Regions from separate parts of the Homo sapiens genome. Here region 1 is linked to region 2. Evidence: promoter capture Hi-C in human tissues and cell types (Jung and others, 2019). All regions are on one chromosome and are shown on one strand. The core of a region is centred on a gene start or on the middle of the fragment in contact, and the rest is flanking DNA. Distances in the headings are between cores, read along the strand shown.

Region 1 (2,700 bases), core at 73-2,572, 330 kb before region 2:
AAACTGCATGCTGTTTGCAAGTGGTTGCAGTTTTCCTGCCCAGCCCACCATCACTGGGCCATGCAATTATCTTGTCCAGCCTGCTGCCACTGGACTGTAGGAAGGTGGATATCTTGTCTAGCCCACCACCATTAGATTGTAAAAAGGTGGATATCTTGTCCAACCCCCTGCCACTGGACTGTAAGAAGGCAGATATCTTGTCCAGCCCACCACCACTGGACTACAGGAAGTTGGATATCTTGTACAGCCCGCAGCACTGGACTGTAGGAAGGTGGATATCTTGTCCAGCCCACCACCACTGGACTGCAAGGAAGGTGGATATCTTGTCCAGCCAGCCACCACTGGATTCTCTCCCCTGTACGTATATAAGTTCCTAATAAAACCCCATGTCTCGTTTGCTGGCTCTGGGTCTCTTCTTCAGCCTCTTGAACCTGGTGCCTTCCCTATTGAGGTTAATAGAGGTTTGGCACAACACAGACAAAACAATGTTGATCATAAGTGGACACATGTTTGAGAACCAATTAAAGAGATTTTACTAATAAACAGAAAATGTCCTAAAAGTTCAAAAGAGAAGAGTCACAGAAATTCACTGTTACTCTTGCTACACAGTATTTGCTTCAGTTTATGCCATCAAATTCCTCATTCTTTGAAATTCTAGCCAAGTTCCTTATCACTTGCAATAGGTAAACTTCAGTAGTTATATACAACCAAAGAGGAAGAATGTGAAAGATCCAGATGTTGGTCCTTTCCAGTAAATAATTTATTCATCTGGATGAACATACTAAGTGTTATCACTTTTTCCTACCAGAAAGCTCCAAGCTTTTGAATAAGATCAAATTATCTAAATACTACTTATTTTAATCTTATCGTAGATCATAGGATGAATAAACTTCTAAGTGGATTTTTGAATTTTTCTTCTTATTAGTAAGAACCTCATTTTGATAACTTTAGAAGCAGTTAATTAAATGTAATCAACATTTATTAGCAAGATACGATTCTCAGCACTGTAAGTGGAACAAAATTTTAGCCACCTCAAATCCATTTTGGAAAAATATGAGGTATAATATAAACAATAGCATCATTTAAGCCCCTATGTTATATTTAGATTTACTGGGCAACAACCTCATGATCCAGATACAGTCTTATAAAATGATAAGGGAAGCAGGCACCTATGAAGAGTACTGTTTGAGAAACTTAGTAAGTCACTTAACTCTTGAAAAAATAAAATCTCTCCCACTACCTGGTGATTCATACTTAATACATCATTAGTGGTTGTTAGGGGTTATTTAGGAATGGCTCCTTGATAAGTGCAAATAGCAGTGCATCAATTACAGTGGACCCCTGAACAACACAGGTTTGAACTGCACGAGTCCACTTATCCATGGATTTTTTCAACAAATATATTGGAAAATTTTTTAGAGATCTGTGACAATTTGAAAAAACTCAGAGATGACCTGCATGGCCTAGAAATATGGAAACAAGAAAAAGGTATGTCATTAATGCATAAAATATATGTAAATACTAGTCTATTTTATCATTTACCACCATAAAACATACAAATATCTATTATAAAAAGTTAGTATTTATCCAAACTTACGCACCACAGATCATACATGATGCTACGAAAAGTCAACACAAATGTAAACAAATGATAATGTAGTATTAAATCATAACTGCATAAAATTAACTGTAGTATATCCTGTCCTTTGGTAATAACATCATAGCCATCTCCTGTTGCTGTTGGGGTGAGCTTGAGTGTTACGAAAATCTGCTTAAAACGCTATGTGACACTAATTGACACTAATCATCTCCATGTGAGTAGTTCACCTCTCCAGTAAATTGCATATCGCAGTAAAAAGTGATCTCTTGTGGGTCTCACATATTTTTTACCATGTTTAGTGCAATACTGAAAACCTTGAATAACACCATGGGACCCATACAAAGTGCCACTGGTGATGCTAACAGTACCTCTGAAAAGCAGAGAAAATTCATGACATTACAAGGAAAAGTTGGGTTGCTTGATATGTACCATAGATTGAGTTCTGCAGCTGTGGCTGCCTGCCATTTCGGACAGATAATCGATTGCATAAATAGATGATATCAACTTGTGGCACCAATAAATACAGTACTGTAAATGTATTTTCTCATTAATTTTCTTAATAACATTTCTCTAGCTTATTCTATTATAAGAATGCAGTATATAATACATATACAAAATATGTGTTAATCAACTGTTTATGTTGTTGGTAAGACTTATGGTCAACAACAGGCTATTAGTAGTTAGTTTTGGGGGAGTCAAAAGTTATATGTGGATTTTCAAAAGCACAGGGGGTTGACATCCCTAAACCCTCACATTGTTCATGAGTCAACTGTATATCCCTTACTCCTTTACCATGAGCAGAGCACAAAACATTTGGGCAAATGGTCATAATAGGTTAAGATTTGGTGGGAGAAAAGTAGAGGAGAAATCTGGAGGAGATAAAGAAAATAGGGCATCTTCATCCATGAATCAGAAGTGTTGGACTTGACTCTAGTCCCTAATTCCTGGATGGTACTTCTGGACCCACCGGGGATTAGGGGACCTCGCTGCCTTGAAGGAAAGGACACAGTCCTGGCTGCTTTGCCACTGGCTAATTGTAGAGCCCCAGGGCCTCGAGCTAAAATAGGCAGTAGCCATGGGGTGGTTACAGCAGATCTTGG
Region 2 (2,700 bases), core at 156-2,655:
GTGTTGGGCAGTTTGTGGTCTTTCTTCCACTTCATCCTCCGGTTCTGAAACCAGATCTTGACCTGGCGCTCAGACAAACAGAGCGTGTGGGCGATCTCGATGCGGCGCCGCCGGGTCAGGTATCGATTGAAGTGGAACTCCTTCTCCAGCTCCAAGACCTGCTGCCGGGTGTAGGCGGTTCGAGAGCGCTTAGGCTCCCCTCCGTTATAACTGGGGTTAACTGAAAACCCAGAACCCCGAAATAGAAGGCCAAGGAGGAGGGAGCGGAAGAGAGGGAAAGGAGGAGGAGAGAGAAGGTGGGGTGGGGAAGAGCAATTGGACATCATCATTATATAATAACCTGACACCAAGTTCACGCAAGATACATAAAACGGCAAAGAAAATGTTTCACAGGCTATTGACAACGGGAAACACCCGAGAGCCATAAAGAATGGTGCTGGGCATTGGGGCTGAAGAAAAGCTTCAAAGACACATGGCCTGAAGCCTCTGCCAGGGCAATTAAATTTATGGGGGCTATAATTACTGCCCTAACAGTTTGGCGTCTCGTAAATCTCCTGATAAAGGGACCCTGGGTACAAAAGGGTTCTCATGTTGGGATCAGGCGGCTGGCTGGCGCGCACATACCCACATCTCACCGCAGCCCGGGTCAGATGGGGGCTCCCCTCCCGAGGCCCCCTTCCCCTGAGCCTCTCCCTCCTGACCCCGACCCTCGAACCCAGGCCCAGCCCCGGCCCACCTCCCGCGCCTCCCAAGCGGCGCCACGTACCGGCGCTGACATGGATCTTCTTCATCCAGGGGTACACCACGGGCTCCTTGCCCTTCAGGCCCAGCGGGCTCTTGTCGGCCAAGAGCAGCGGGCACGCGGGGGCGCTGCCCCCTGCCGGGACGCCTGGGGTGGCGGGGGCCGCCTCGCAGCGCCGCGGGGCCGCTGGGGGCACGGCGCGAGGCTGCAGGGGCGGCGGCAGCTGGGGCTGCAGGACGTGGCTCGCATGCAGGCCGTGCGCTGGGCCCTTGGCTTGCGCCGGGGGCTGCTCGGGCTGGGGCGGCCGCCCGGGGCTGGCGCCGCCGCGGTAGCCATAGGGGTAGGCGGTGTCCGCGGCCCCATGCGCGGGGTACAGCGCGGCAGCAGGGTAGGCGGGCTCGCGGGCGGTCCGCGGCGCGTAGTAGGAGGCAGTGGGCTCTCGGCCGCCGCCCGCGTGAGGGAGCTGGGGCTGCTGCAGCGGCAGGTGCTGGGTCGGGGGCGCTGGGGGCTGCTGGTAGCCGGGGCCCCCGCCCGGGCCGCCGTCTGCGCCGCCCGAGCCGCTGTGCTGCGCGTACTCCTCGAAGGGAGGGAACTTGGGCTCGATGTAGTTGGAGTTTATCAAAAACGAGCTCATGGTCATTAATTTGTGAAGTGCAAAAATACTAATTTTTCTCGCGTTGTCGTTTTTTCTGGGCTTGCCGAGGCCCCTCCCCCTCCTGCCTCGCTTCCCATCCCCCTTTCCTCTGCGCCCTTCCCCTCCCCCCGCTGTCAAGTGCCCACTCCTCCCCCTCCCGCAGACGCCGCCACCAAAGTTCGAGCCGCTCCTCCCCAGCCCAGCGCGCGCCCCGCCCCGTGCCCCACGTGCAGCGCCCCCACCAATGGGCGCACCGCGCGCGCGGACCCGGATCAGGAAACGCGCGGGTGCGTGATGGATGCTGCTGTCCGGCCCCTGGGCTGGGGGAGGGAGCAGGAGCTTTGGACCCCAGCCCCCCAGCTTTGGTTCCCGCTGGGAATTCAGGCCCTGTCAGGCTGTAGGTCCTCTCGGGAGCCCTCTGCCTGCCCTACTGCTGGCCTAGGCCTCGGGCTGTCTGGCGGCCGCGACTCAGCGCTGACCTCGGGCGCAACCCAGTCAGGCTTCGTGTCCTTCAGGGGTTCTAGGCTAACAGGCGAAAGGAAGGGCGTTGGGACCGAGGGGCATCCTGGTTTTTATGTACGCCACTGAGAGGCCACCAGACACATTTTCTCAACCGCAGATCCCCCTTCCCCACACCCTGCTCCTTGCGTGTCAGCCTGAGAGCCCTTGCTTTGAGAAGCTTGGCAGAAGCTGCAAAGGGTGGGCGGGCAGCTAAGAGAAATCGACCCAAGGATGTAAATCGAGGCCATTCCATTATAACTGGATGGACACTTTTCATTTTTTCCTTCTTTCAGAGACAATCTGTTTCGTGTTTTCCTAAGAAAAATTGGAACCTTCGTAATAGCATCTAATTTGACGGGGGTTGTCGATGTGAGAGCTAAATATGCCCGCATTTACTAGGTGCGATTGTGAGAGAGAAGGTGGCCCAAGGATGGGAATGGATAGAAGCAACACCTCCACAGAACCGAGCTTTGAAAACAATAACTTCCTATTTCAGAACTATCCCCAAACAAAAACAAGCTAAGGGTAGAATAAACACCTTGCCGGGTCTGATCGCTGATGGGTCTTTTCCAGCTAAGAATTTCATGTTTTCTCTTTTAGATCCTGCTTTCTCAGGCAGTATCTGAGGCTAGAGTTATATTTGCAGGACAGTCTATAATTTCTGAATTGCTGAAAATTAGCGTATTAACGATATCAGAAGCTCCGGAAAGGAGGGAGAGGAGACTGTTGCCTGCTATTTGGTAATTGAAATTTGATGGGTACACTAATTACGCCATTATTAACAAATAAATTACTTATTAATTCCACCTAATGTTGATCTTTG

The links. Contacts are between HindIII fragments. The study calls those that stand out against the background at their distance.
Region 1: a contact is called between a fragment that was not itself captured here and the fragment with the promoter of HOXA4 in region 2, in 1 of the 25 tissues and cell types used here (dorsolateral prefrontal cortex).

What each region holds. Positions count from the first base shown.
Region 1 is chr7:26,794,548-26,797,247 of GRCh38, forward strand. The region is part of intron 4 of SKAP2 (src kinase associated phosphoprotein 2); the gene reads right to left. Among named protein-coding and RNA genes, the nearest start is that of SKAP2, 69 kb to the right of the region's middle. The HindIII fragment of the contact is 6,768 bases long and covers 1-2,700 here.
Region 2 is chr7:27,129,352-27,132,051 of GRCh38, forward strand. It overlaps HOXA4 (homeobox A4), which reads right to left and starts at 1,406. Exons shown (of 2, transcript NM_002141.5): 1 at 767-1,406; 2 at 1-220. The coding sequence starts at 1,382. The region is part of intron 2 of HOXA3 (homeobox A3); the gene reads right to left. RefSeq lists a silencer at 1,564-1,633. The HindIII fragment of the contact is 3,192 bases long and covers 1-2,700 here.